Linked DNA regions of Homo sapiens: regions 1 and 2 are each linked to region 3. Evidence: promoter capture Hi-C in 16 types of primary human blood cells and fetal thymus (Javierre and others, 2016). All regions are on one chromosome and are shown on one strand. The core of a region is centred on a gene start or on the middle of the fragment in contact, and the rest is flanking DNA. Distances in the headings are between cores, read along the strand shown. Region 1 overlaps FAM13B (family with sequence similarity 13 member B). Region 2 has its middle 8.6 kb from the start of FAM13B. Region 3 holds the start of KDM3B (lysine demethylase 3B).

The links. Contacts are between HindIII fragments. The CHiCAGO score rates a contact against its expected background, and 5 or more counts as called.
Region 1: a contact is called between a fragment that was not itself captured here and the fragment with the promoter of KDM3B in region 3, in 1 of 17 cell types (neutrophils). The highest score is 5.2, in neutrophils.
Region 2: a contact is called between a fragment that was not itself captured here and the fragment with the promoter of KDM3B in region 3, in 1 of 17 cell types (neutrophils). The highest score is 8.9, in neutrophils.

The regions. Positions count from the first base shown.
Region 1 is chr5:138,009,236-138,013,668 of GRCh38, reverse strand. FAM13B (family with sequence similarity 13 member B) reads left to right here. Exons shown (of 24, transcript NM_001385994.1): 5 at 1,724-1,901; 6 at 2,520-2,661. Among named protein-coding and RNA genes, the nearest start is that of FAM13B-AS1, 21 kb to the left of the region's middle. The HindIII fragment of the contact is 8,248 bases long and covers 1-4,433 here.
Region 2 is chr5:138,039,319-138,044,111 of GRCh38, reverse strand. It overlaps a transcript of FAM13B not described here. Among named protein-coding and RNA genes, the nearest start is that of FAM13B, 8.6 kb to the right of the region's middle. The HindIII fragment of the contact is 5,363 bases long and covers 1-4,793 here.
Region 3 is chr5:138,351,326-138,355,823 of GRCh38, reverse strand. KDM3B (lysine demethylase 3B) reads right to left here and starts at 3,139. Exons shown (of 24, transcript NM_016604.4): 1 at 2,837-3,139. The coding sequence starts at 3,028. RefSeq lists an enhancer at 2,200-2,299 and silencers at 2,550-3,019, 3,100-3,339, 3,360-3,439. The HindIII fragment of the contact is 3,421 bases long and covers 1,665-4,498 here.

The sequences.
Region 1 (4,433 bases), core at 1,836-4,335, 340 kb after region 3:
GGGACTATTCTGTCTGATTTTAAAATTGAAGTACTGGTACATTTGAATGGACAGCTGGTAATATTACAAAGTATAGAAGAGTTGTTATTGGTTGCATTTTAAATTTTAAGTAAAACTCATGTGACTGTAGCCTTTCCTGATAAACTTAAAATTTTTTTTTTTTTTTTGGAGATGGAGTCTTGCTCTGTCCCCCAGGCTGGAGTGCAGTGGTGCAATCTCGGCTCACTGCAAGCTCTGCCTCCTGGGTTCACGCCATTCTCCTGCCTCAGTCTCCTGAGTAGCTGGGACTACAGGCACCCGCCAACACACCCAGCTAATTTTTTGTATTTTTAGTAGAGATGGGATTTCACTGTGTTAGCCAGGATGGTCTCGATCTCCTGACCTTATGATCCACCTGTCTCGGCCTCCCAAAGTGCTGGGATTACAGGCGTGAGCCACCGCGCCCAGCCTTTTTTTTTTTCTTTTTGAGACAGGGTCTCACTCTGTCACCCAGGCTGAAGTGCAGTGGCACGATCTCGGCTTACTGCAACCACTGCCTCCCAGGCTCAAGCCATCCTCTCACCTCAGCCTCCTGAGTAGCTGGGAGCACATGTGTGTGCCAGTACACTCAGCTAATTTTTGTATTTTTGGTAGAACGGGGTTTCGTGATGTTGCCCAGGCTGGACTCGAACTCCTGAGCTCAGGTGATGCGCCTGTCTCAGCCTCTCAAAGTGCTGGGATTACAGGCATGAGCCACCATACAAGGCCAAATTTTTTTTTTTTTGAATCAACATAGTACTGGAGTCCTATTTCCTGATAAACTTTTTAGACTAGTGTTATTTTGCAGAGATAGTTAATATCATGACCGTAACCTTTTACCAGGAGTTTTTCAGTAAAATAATTTTAAGAACCTGCGGAAAAATACAAAATGAAACATAATTTAATTGATTTTTACTCATGTAGCACAATAAATCACTTCATTTCGAGAGGACCTCTGAGCACTTATTTCTCCCAAATGGGATCCTCACCAATTAGTGGAATGAATACGGGTCTAGTTTCTGTTAATGAAAACTCATTGACACGATAAATACAAGGCCTAACTTGTGTGATAAAGTTTACTTGATAAGCAGAAACCAACATGAATTTAGAGGAGAAAAACAGACGAGAAATGAAAGACCTTTTAATTTAGTTATACTGATATTGCTGAAGTTAATTGTTTATTTTAGGACGCCAGGAGAAGAAAATCACACTGTTACCTTTTTCTTTCCTTCTTTTTACTTTCATCTAAGCTGAAAGGTATCACTGATACTATTAGCCCCTCAAATTGCATCTCTGCTTTGCTCACTAGTGGTTTGTATTGTCTGGCATGGCCAGTGCATTTTGACTTCTTATAGTTGGCACTAGTGTGGAAACACAGGTACAGTCATGCTGGAGACAGTAGGATGAGAATTAAAAAAAAAAAAAAAAAAAAAAGAGAATTGGGGCCAATGAGTAATAGATGAGGAAAACATCCTCCAGCAATTAAGGGATTGAGTTCCTTTTTTCCAGCTCCTCTTCTCCACCTCTTCTCCATTTCATAAGTGAAATACAAAGCCCTAAGGCATTTGGCCCCAGTAGAGGAAGTGAAGAGGTTTTGAATTGTTGTATTAAAAAGGTGATGTGGGTGGAGTAATGTGAACCTGGCAAAATATCAGAGCTTTGCTTTTTCCTTTATTGAAAAAAACCTGTTATTATTGTTTTATAGATTATAATAATGAAGATGAATTTGGAAGAAAGTTGAGGTTCCTCTTGCAACAGCTTCCACCTGTTAATTATAGTTTGTTAAAGTTTCTGTGTAGATTTTTAGCCAATGTAGCATCACATCATGAAGAAATTTGGTCCGCAAATTCTTTGGCTGCTGTCTTTGGTCCAGATGTCTTCCAGTAAGTTGTTTAAAAAATTTTTGTTTAATTTTTAAAAATTAGATATGTGAGGCCGGGCACGGTGGCTCATGCCTGTAATCCCAGCACTTTGGGAGGCTGATGCGGGCGGATCACAAGGTCAGGAGATTGAGACCATCCTGGCTAACACGGTGAAACCCCGTCTCTACTAAAAATAAAAAAACTAGCTGGGCATGGTGGCGGGTGCCTGTAGTCCCAGCTGCTCGGGAGGCTGAGACAGGAGAATGGCGTGAACCCGGGGAGGCGGAGCTTGCAGTGAGCCGAGATCGCGCCAATGCACTCCAGCCTGGGTGACAGAGCGAGACTCCATCTCATAAAAAAAAAAAAGAAAAATTAGATATGTGAAATGGAATCATTATATTGTCTCCCAAGGATCGCAGGTTGCTTGATGAACAATTATTTTTTATAGTAGATATGATTAATTCTTACAGCATTTTTGTGAACAGGGTACAAATTAGGTAGGTTTTACAGATGGGAGAATGGAAGCACAGAATGGTAACATAAATTGCCCATGTTCATAAAGTATCTCATTGGTTGTCTTCTACCTTTACCTGTGATTGATTTAAGAACTCTCAATTCAATTTGGACTTCTATTCTTAGCATTTACACAGATGTGGAAGACATGAAAGAGCAAGAAATAGTGAGCAGGATAATGGCTGGACTTCTGGAAAACTACTATGAGTTTTTTGAGAATGAAGAGGAAGATTTTTCATCTAATGATTTGAGTTCAATTACTGAACAGGTGAGAATATTCTATTTGGAGGGATAATTTTTTTTTTTTTTTTTTTTTTTAAGAATAATATGCTCTTAAAGACTTGCCACAGACATAAGTGGAATTTAAATCTGACCTGGAAGTAATTATCTTGGTTATTATATGTAATCAGTAGGTGGCACATTCATGATTTTTTTCCTGAACAACATCCTGTCCTCCATAATTTGATTAATAAGGAAAAGGCATTAAAATTAGAGTATATGGTAGAGATTTTTTGTTTCTTTTCCTATTGTTTATTTTGTAAGGATAATGCAGTGTTTTGGTTTTTTGCAGAGAAACTGCTAGCATAGAGGAATATAGGCAAGGGGTGAGAAATTTAAAGTAGAGGGAAAGATTCGGTACACATTTTTAAAAATTTGAAGTTTTTCTTCAATAATAGAGCAAATCAACACAATAGTATAATTGTCACTAATGGGAAGCATCTGGATATTAATAGTTTAAGTGGCAGGTAATTTTTAAATTCTGGTGACTCTAGAATATTAAAATCTCTTTCTGAGGTTACATTATAATCTTTTAAAAAATTGTTTTATTATTTATAGAGACAGGGTCTTCTTATGTCGCCCAGGTTGGTCTTGAACTCTTGGCCTCAAGCAGTCCTCCTGCCTTGGCCTTCCAAAGTGTTGGTATTACAGGTGTTAGCCACCACACCTGGCCCCACAAAATGATTTTAAAAAGTGTGATATAACATGTTAAAATAGGCCAGGCGTGGTGGCTCATGCCTGTAATCCCAGCACTGTGGGAGGCTGAGGTGGGTGGATCAGCTGAGGTCAGGGGTTTGAGACCAGCCCGGCCAACATGGTGAAACACTGTCTGTACTAAAAATATAAAAATTAGCCAGGCATAGGGGCATGTGCCTGTAATCCCAGCTACTGGAGAGGCTGAGGCAGGAGAATTGCTTGAACCTGGGAGGCGGAGGTTGCAGTGAGCCAAGATCGTAGCACTGCACTTCAGCCTGACCGACAGAGCAAGACTCCATCTTAAAAACAAACAAACAAAAATGTTGAAATAATAGTATCTCTGTACCAAAAAGGTGTGAACTGAATAAGTTTTTATTCTCAGTTTTAAAAGCCTTCTTTAAAAATTTTTTTTGATATTTTGCTGTTGTGCCCAGGCTTTTATTAATCAACCACAATAATTCCCACCCCTGCCCCAACCCTTTTTTTTTTTTTTTTTTTGAGACAGTCTCGCTCTGTCGCCCAAGCTGGAGTGCAATGGTGTGATCTTGGCTCACTGCAACCCCTGTCTCCCAGGTTCAAGCAATTCTCCTGCCCCAGCCTCTCGAGTAGCTGGGATGACAGGCGCTCGCCACCATGCCTGGCTAATTTTTGTATTTTTAGTAGAGACAGGCTTTCGCCATGTTGGCCAGACTCGTCTCGAACTCCAGGCCTCGGGTGATCCACCCACCTCTACCTCCCAAAGTGCTGGGGTTACAAGCATGAGCCACTGCACCTGGTCCCCTTTTATACTTCTGAAAACTTTTTTTTTTTTTGGCCAGTGTTTCCTTGCTTAGATTACCAGATGGATATTAAGTACATCCTCTCAACTTTCACTAGTTAATAAAATACGTAGATGGGGAAAGAGGATAATTTCCCATTAGATCTACTTTAAAACCTGATCTATCATTTGAGATTTTCACCTTTGTGTTGAAATCTTACCTCTCAGTTAATCACTTAGGCCAGTGATTTTTCAGTCCTTTTCATTAGCATTATACATGATGTGGGATAGACTAGGAAAGACATTTA
Region 2 (4,793 bases), core at 1,296-3,795, 310 kb after region 3:
ACCAAAAAAATAAAAAATACATAAAAAAAGCTAGGTGTGACAGCATGTGCCTATAGTTCCAGCTACATAGGAGGTTGAGGTGGGAGGATCACTTGAGCCCAGGAGTTCTGGGCTACCATGAGCTATAATGGAGCCACTGTACTCCAGCCTGGGAGATGGAGTGAGACACTTTCTCTAATAAAAATACCAAAATACCCCCCTTTTCATTGTGCAATATTCATATAGAAAATGTCCTGGCTGGGTATGGTGGCTCATACCTGGTAATCCCAGCACTTTGGGAAGGTGAGGCAAAAGGATTGCTTGAGCCCAGGAGTTTGAGACCAGCCTGGGCAACAGAGAGAGATCCCATTTCTGTTAAAAAAAGAAAAAAAAGAGGCCGGGTGCGGTGGCTGACGCCTATAATTTCAGCACTTTGGGAGGCCGAGGCAGGCGGATCATGAGGTCAGGAGTTCGAGACCAGTCTGACCAACATGGTGAAACCCTGTCTCTACTAAAATACAAAAAATCAGCCGGGCGTGGTGGCGTGCGCCTGTAGTCCCAGCTACTTGGGAGGCTGAGGCAGGGGAATTGCTTGAACCTGAGAGGTGGAGGTTGCAGTGAGCCGAGATCGCACCACTGCACTTCGGCCTGGCGACAGAGCAAGACTCTGTCTCAAAAAAAAAAAAAAAAGAAAGAAAGAAAAAAAAGAATAATGCCCGAACAAGGTAAACACAGGTCAATAATTTATTCTTATTTATTATTTATTTTTTGAGACAGGGTCTCTCTCTGTCATCCAGGGTGGAGTGCAGTGGCACAATCATGGATCACTGCAGCTTTGACCTGGCCTCAAGCAATCCTCCCACCTCAGCCTCCTGAGTAGCTGGGACTACAAGTGTGTTACCATGCCTGGCTAATTTTTAATTTTATTTTTTATAGAGACAGGGTCTCACTATGGTGCTCAGGCTGGTCTCCAATTCCTGGCCTCAAGTGATTCTTGCTGGCCTGGTCAATTTCTTCTTTTGTTGTTGTTCTTTTTTATTTGAGATGGAGTCTGGCTCTGTTGCCCAGGCTGGGATGAAGTGGCACGATCTCAGCTCACTGTAACCTCCACTTCCTGGGTTCGAGTGATTCTTCTGCCTCAGCCTCCCGAGTAGCTGGGACTACAGGCATGCGCCACCACACCCGGCTACTTTTTGTATTTTTAGTAGAAACAGGGTTTCACCATGTTAGCCAGGCTGGTCTTGAACTCCTGGCTTCAGGTGGTCCACCCTCCTCAGCCTCCCAAAGTGCTGGGATTATAGGCATGACCCACCGCGCCTGGCCCCTGGTCAATTTAATACAAAGCAAACACCCATGTAACCACCACAGCTCATATCAAGAATAAGAGCATTCTTATTTTTGTGTCTCCACGAACTCTTGCCCCTCGTTCCCAGAAGAACCAGAACCAGTATCATGATGTCTATGATAGTCACTTCCTGGCTTTTTTTTTTTTTCTTTTAAGTTTTTCCCCTAATTTGTATCCCTAAACATGATGATTTAGTTTTGCTTTTTTTGGGAAACACTGTTATATTTAATTTCAATTAAAGAAAAAACTTAAAAACTTAAGGAGCTAGTTTTTATTTTTAAACTTTTTGAAATATAAAATACATATGGAGAAGTATACAGATCATGAGTACAGCTCACTGAATTGTCCCTAGGTGAACATATATGTGCAACTTCCCCCTAGGTTAAGAAATGGAATATCTTCTCATGACCCCTCCTTATTATTGATTTCTTCCTTCCTCAAAAAGACTTCCCTCCTTAACCACAATTCTGACTTCTAAAATGATAGTTTAGTTTTCCCTGCTTTTGAACTGTTTTTAACGGATTCATACAGTATTTGTTTGTGTCTGGCTTCTTTCATTTATTTTTGTGATTCATCACATTGTTGTTTGTAGCTGTAGTTTGTTCATTTTCATTGTTTACATGGTATGAAGATACCATACTGTATTAATCATTCATCATTCTATCATTGCTATCTACCTGAGCTTGAGTTTCCATTTTTTTCACCAATATAAAAAATGCAGCTATGAACTTCAGGGTCTTCCCCTGTTGTGCAGGCTGGAGTGCAGTGGTGCAGTCATAGTTCACTGTAACCTTGAACTTCCGGGCTCAAAAAATCCTCCTGCCTCAGCCTCCTGACTAGCTGGGATTACAGGTGCAAACCACTGTGCCTGGCTATTAATATTTTTTTTTTTTTTGAGACAGGGTCTTGCTCTGCCACCCAGGCTGGAGTGCGGTGGTGCTTACTGCAGGCTTGAATTACCAGGTTCAGGTGATTCTCCTGTCTCAGTACCACCCCCCACCCCCAATTTTTTTTTTTGAGATGGGGTCTTGCTATGTTGCCCAGGCTGGTTTCAAACTCCTGGCCTTAAGCAATCCTCCTGCCTTGGCCTCCCAAAGTGCTGGGATTATGGGTGTGAACCACCATGCCCAGCTCTTTGACTTTTAATTAGGAATTAATATATTTACACTGATTGTAATTACTCATATTTGAATTTATTTCTGCTATCTAATGTTTTACTATTTGTCCTCCTTAAACATTTTTTATCCATTTTTAAAATTAAGATCTTCCTATTTTATTTTATCCCCCTAATAAACTGGAAGTTATATATACTGTTTAATTTCTTGTACTGATTATGTAGAAATTTTAACATGTATATTTAACTCAACAAATTATAGACTTATTTAGCCTCCTCTTAAACAATACAAAGCCTTCTAATACTTTAATTTACCCTCTCACAATAGTATATGTTAAATTATTGAACAATAGTAGAATTTAGATATTGTTGCCATTATTTTGGATAGTGTTTAGATTTACAGCAAACATGCAAACAATTTTCTTTGTTCACCATTACTTCTCGCATTTTGGATCTTCCTTCTGGAAGATGGTAATTTTCTCTTAACATTTTGAAGATACGCTGCAGTATCATTTGGCTTCTATTGTTACTATTGAAAGGTCAGCTGTCAGCCAAATTATCTTTTCTTTGAAGATTAGTGTCTTTTCTTTTCTTTTTTTTTTTTTTTTTTGAGATGGAGTCTTGCTCTGTTGCCTAGGCTGGAGTGCAGTGGCGCAATCTCAGCTCACTGCAACCTCTGCCTCCCAGGTTCAAGTGATTCTCCTGCCTTAGCCTCTCGAGTAGCTGGGATTACAGGCGTGTGCCACCACACCCAGCTAATTTTTGTAATTTTAGTAGAGGCAGGGTTTTGCCATGTTGGTCAGGCTGGTCTCGAACTCCTGACCTCAGGCAATCTGCTCATGTTGGCCTCCCAGAGTGCTGGGATTACAGGCGTGAGCCACTGTGCCCGGCCTAATGTCTTTTCTTGCTGCCTAATTTTAAGATCCCCTTTCTCTCTGGGTACTAAATTTTATGTGTGCATTTTATACTTTTCAGCATGGCAAGTTTTGGTCTTCCAGAATTTAGGATATTTACCTTCAATTCTGGAAAATGTTCAGCCACTATTTCTTTGAATATTGTCTTCCCTCCATTCTATTATCTCCTTCTTTTTTGTTTGTTTTGTTTTTGAGACGGTGTCTACGTCGCCCAGGCTGGAGTGCAGTGGCGCGATCTCGGCTCACGGTAATCTCCGCCTCCCAGATTCAAGCAATTCTCCTGCCTCAGCCTCCTGAGTAGCTGGGATCACAGGCATGCACCACCATGCCGAGCTAATTTTTTTTAATATTTTTAGTAGAGACAGCGTTTCACCATATTGGCCAGGCTGGTCTGGAATTCCTGACCTTGTGATCGGCCCGCCTCGGCCTCCCAAAGTGCTGGGATTACAGGCTTGAGCCACCGTGCCCGGCCTTTTTTTTTTTTTTTTTTTTTTTTTGAGACAGAGTCTTGCTCTGTCGCCAGGCTGAAGTGCAGTGGTGCAATCTCGGCTCACTGCAACCTCTGCCTCCTGGGTTCAAATGATTCTCCTGCCTCAGCCTCCCCAGTAGCTGGGATTACAGGCATGCGCCACTACGCCTAGCTAACTTTGTATTTTTAGTAGAGATGGGGTTTCACTATGTTGGTCAGGCTGGTCTTGAACTCCTGACCTCGTGATCCGCCTTCCTCGGCCTCCCAAAGTGCTGGGATTACAGGCTTGAACCACCGTGCCCGGCCAGGTTGGTTTCTTTCTATGAAGGCCTAAAATAGGGATGTACACCTTCATGTTTTGGAGCTTCTCTGCTGATGAGCTTGGGGATTCAGAAAACATTAAATGCTTCTGTAAATTGTTATATACTCTAGTGGAAAAGAGTAGTTAGGTGTAAATGTTTGGCAAAAAATACAGCTGTAGTTAAACTGCAAACTGCAAACATTGGCGTTGTCAGTTTGCCACAGAAAATGTGGTCTGAATGGAAGGTGCCTGAAGGCTAGGCATGGTGGCTCATGCCTGTAATCCCAGCACTTTGGGAGGCCGAGGTGGGAGGATCTCTTGAGCCCAGGAGTTAGAGGCCACCCTGGGCAATGTAGTGATAATACGTCTCTAAGAAAAAAAAAAAAAAAAGCTGGGCATGGTGGCACATGCCTGTAGTCCCAGATACTTGGGAGGCTGAGGTGGGAGGATTGCTTGAGCCTGGGATACTGAGGCTGCAGTGAGCTATAATTGGGCCACTGGACCCAGACCCTGACTCAAAGGGGAAAAAAAAGGTGCTGAGAAGCAACTTGGCTGGTCAAATGATAGGAAGGCTCAAAAGCCTAGAGCCTGTAAGGAACAGGTAGGATATGCAAAATGGTGAGACCCTCCTGCCTAGATTTCTGGTTAAAAAGGCAGCAGAAAGTTCATGA
Region 3 (4,498 bases), core at 1,890-4,389:
TTTATAACCAAAAAAAGGAAAATCCATGGGTTTCTTTTTTTGGTCTGTTTTATCTACAATACCCATATACGTGACGGTCCCAAGGTCTCTGCAACTTACATGAGCCAATAATGATTTAGGAACACAAAGAGGACACCAGATTAGGAAAGAAAAGCCAGAGATAAATGCATACAACCCATAAACTAATTCTAAAAAAATAAAAGGCCCATTTTAAAACACAAATAAAATTACTATTCCACTAGAAAGTGGGGGAAAAGCTGTTTTCATGCCTTGGCTAAACATCTGAGTAATTTGTCAGCATGGCTTCTGCTGGTGAAGATGTCCACCTATGAGAACCTTATCAACAAAACTCTCAATCAACAGGATCCTGACTCCTTTTTTTCACATCTCACCTTAAGGTAGCACTTGGCTTTGTTACTGTTTTCCAAAAAAGGTTTCATTTAATGGATCAGTACTGTATTTTATAGGATATCTGAATCAAAAAGTATTTAGAAAGAGATGTATTCGTGGAATCTAAAATTAAGAAGTGTGTTTTCAATCACTTCAGAAACTCATTCATCCAACCCTCAATTACTCATCCTTAAAAGGGGGCGCCCTGCTAGGCATTACTCAAAACCAAGCATGCCTGAAAACATCTTAAACATAACTGAATGAAAATCTGCCCAATCACAGGCCAGCTGCTTGCAAACTCCACCCTTGAGTACGGGAAGAACACTTTTGATTGGAAGACAGTTGTGTTTACTACCGTGTGTGGTGCAAATTGGAAAGGTCCACATGCCTACGGTCCAAAGGAAATCTCTCTTAATGAGAAAAAAAGAAAACGGCCCATTCTCATCCTACACTGGTCATTGTCATTAATAGAACCTCAACAAAATACCAATTCTTGAACAATTTTGCAAGCTGGTGAAAAAATCTAAAGGCTCTGAGTTTTGGTCTGGCTGTTTTCTCATCTATGTCCCTGGATATACATGTAAGACAAGCATAAATGTATTCTCAAAATACAAACCTGCCTTTGCTTCTACATTCACACAGCCCTATGCAAGACCTCAACACAGCTGTAATGTTCTTTGCTTTAATTTCCAAGAATCACTGCAACTTTTTACTTGGTTTGAGAACCCAGTTCCGTGGGATCAGTGGTAAAATTATTCAGTATTTAGCTTAGTGGGTGTCCAGCAAGGAAGTGAGCTCCAAAATCCTCTGCCCTTAGGGAGCACAGCAAACGACAAAGTGAATGGGGAGCCATTTCAGGTGCAGAGCTCATTAGCAATTCATCTGATGGAGGAAACGAGACGACCACTGCAAGAACCAGAAAAAAATCCCAATGAATAGCTAGGGCAAAGTAGGCCTTCGGTCAAAGTATGCATATAATAGTGGATCTTAAGTATGTTTTGCCTCCAAGGTGGTAGAATGAATCTGAAATGGACACTTCTTTTCCCATCCCAGCCATCTTTTAAAGAAAGCGCAGAGGAATAGAGATCCAAATCCCAGTCTTAATCATCATTCCATCCCCTTAAATTTTTAGTATCTTTTTGCAAATTTGCCCCACTGAGGCCTTATAAATGTCCTAGTAACGTTTCTTATACAGCATGAAGAAAAATCAAAGCAAATGAACCCAAGTAGCAGAAGCAAAGCCTAAGCCATCCACAAAAAAAATCCATAAAGCTTGTATATTAGTGAAAAAGGACAGTCTAACACCGTTGATCAATAGGAAGAAAAATGAACATCGGAAGCCTACAACATTACTTCCAAATCTCACAAACTGCGTTCCCGTTTATATCTGCAAAAGCAAGTTCATCAAGAAAATTTACTTTCTGCTTGCTGATCTATTACATTCCAAAAGACCACCCCCTGCCCCAACACGCACACACACCATTTTTCATAGCCTTATCTCACCAGAGAAGCTAGGGCCCCTATCAAAATGAGGAAATAAAGTGGCTTGCCAAAACTCAAACACTATATTTTACCGCCACATTAACGAGAATAACACATCATGATCCCGAATGCTAGTTAAGTTGTATGACTGAACAACTTTAATCACAAAACACACCAAGGCATTCAAAAAGGGCCAAGCCCAAACACAAAGTTTCAAAACAAAACCTCTCCCAAGGTTGGGGGAGTAGCTGAGCTGGGAGCAAAAAGCACTACCCAGCAGCCCCGTTCGGCCACTAAGAAAGATCTCAAACTTAACAAAAACAGCCACAACTGCAGCTCCTGTCACCCAGAAGCGTTAAGGAAAGGAGAGGAGAGCTCGAGACAGTGCCGAGAGCTGGCCTTTCTGGAGACCGCCAGGCCGAGCCCAGCTCAGATGAGGAAGTAACTGCCAGATAAAAAAGCCCCGACCAGCTCCAACTGCAGCCTCCGTGCCTCCCATAACTGCCCACATTCCCGCCCCACTTGGGGCTCTGGGAGAAAAGGAACAGGGCGCAGGTCTCCTGGGAGAGGCTGGGGACCACAGGTCCGCGTCTTCGAGAGGGCAGCGGCAACACTGGCCGAACTCTGAGGCTCCCGGGAGCTCAAGATTCGAGAGCCTGCTCCGAAGGCGTGTTGGGGGGAACGCCGAGAAAAGGGTCGCCCAGGAGGCGGGGCCTGCTGGCTGCAAGCAGCAGCTCCGGACGCCCTGGCCGCCCCCCGGGGGAAACCGGGGCGCACACCCCGACGCGGAAGCCATGCCGGCAAGCGCTCGGGGTGCGGAGGTGCCGGCGGGGGGCGCTAAGGAGACCCGGGGGCACGGAAATGGGTCACCCCCATCCCACCGCCCCCTCACAAAGGCCCCCGGGGAGGCCGCCCGCAGGCCCCGCAGCCCCGGCCTCGAGTGCCCGACTCGGCCGCCACTCACCGCTAGGTCCTGGGGCACCGCCCCGCTCATGGCCCGCACCGTGCCGGCCCGCCAGGCTCGAGTGCGCAGCGCAGGCCCCGGATCTCCGCTCGCCGCTGCCGCCGCGGGAGCCGAGGCCGAGGCTGAGGCCGCAGTGTCCGCGAACAGCAGCAGCAGCCGCTTGCCCACCGGGGAGGCCGCCGCGTCCGCCATCGCCGGGGCCGGCCTGACCCGCGCTCCCGCCCGCCGCCTCCCACCACCTCCGCCGCCAAGCGCCCGATCCGCCCGCAAGGCCTCCCTCCGCACCACCCGCGGCCGCCGTTCCCCCCCACCCCCCCCAACAGCCACCACCAACCACCGGCGCAGCGCAGCGCCCCCCGTGGCCGGGAGCGGAGCCGCAGCCTGGGCCCCGCACAGCGCCCCCCGCGCTCTGGAGCGGGGCGACAGCTCCTGGCCCCTCGCAGCGCTCCGCCCCAATCTCCCCGGGGCCTGCAGTGCCCCCTGCGGTCTGGAGGGGAATTGCAGGTCCGGCCGGGGTAGGGAAGTGGGCGGGTCCTTCAGCTTCCCCATGGCATCATCCCTGGTCTCAATCTTCCTTCAGGGAGTCGTATATATGAGAGGGCTTTAGCTTGCTCTCCTCGGATACCAAAGACATTTACGGGGTAAGGGGGTGAGGGGCAAGGTACCTAGAGAGTGGATGTTTTGAGCTATTTAGTGTCTCCAATACCCCCATTGATTTCCTATCCTGAAAATATGAGCTCCTACCTGCTGTCTTGTAGGAAATGTTCTCCCCATTGGTCCATGAGACACAATGTCTTCCTTCTCAATGGCCCATAACAGCACCATCCCATTCTATACTGCCAGCACTTCTTAGGTTCCTTTCCAATTGGCCAATGTATTACTTCCATTGGATGTATAATGCCACTCTTTCCACTGACTGAAGGCCAACGTGCCCCCCAACATCTTGGTGTTTTTCCTAAAACCGACCTAACTTCTTCCCCTTCCTAGTCTGCCAATGTTATTAAGTCTACGTGTTTCTCCATTCAACTCTTAGGGGAACTGGAAATAGACCAACAGTAAAGGGGTTCTCTTAGTAGCACTCCATCTTACCATGGAATTAGTGGGGCTGGGGGCAAAGAAAATTCTGTAACTCTTATCTGAATGCATTTAATACAGGTGTGGGAGACTGATAGCTCCTGATTAGAAAAGGAGCCTGCAGAGAAAGTGAGATGCTGAGATTTTTGGCTAGATTGTTACCCACAATAAGCAACAGGAAATTGCCTCAATCATTTAAAGCTGGCAATATCAGGGACTAGCACATTCCATGGTCTCATGGATGCAGAGACTGAGTATACACAAAATGGATACAAAAGATAAAGGGTATAGTAATAACCCATGACTGTTGTTCTAAAAGTGACTTTTTGATTTTCCCTACAGACAGGAAATAGTGGTAGCTGGTTCTTTCTCCAAGGCTTCTGTGCCTACCCCAGCTATCTCCTGTCCATAACCTTGTCTACACCCTTGACCTACTTTTCTTGTAACAAAGGCTTGGGGAGAGGGGTAACCAACTATTGACTTTATACTTTTACTAAAGTATAAAACATATAGGAAAATCATTCTAGAACCAACCCTGTGGAGCACCAAGGAAACATTCCTCCCTCCACTTCTTTTTAACTTCCATCT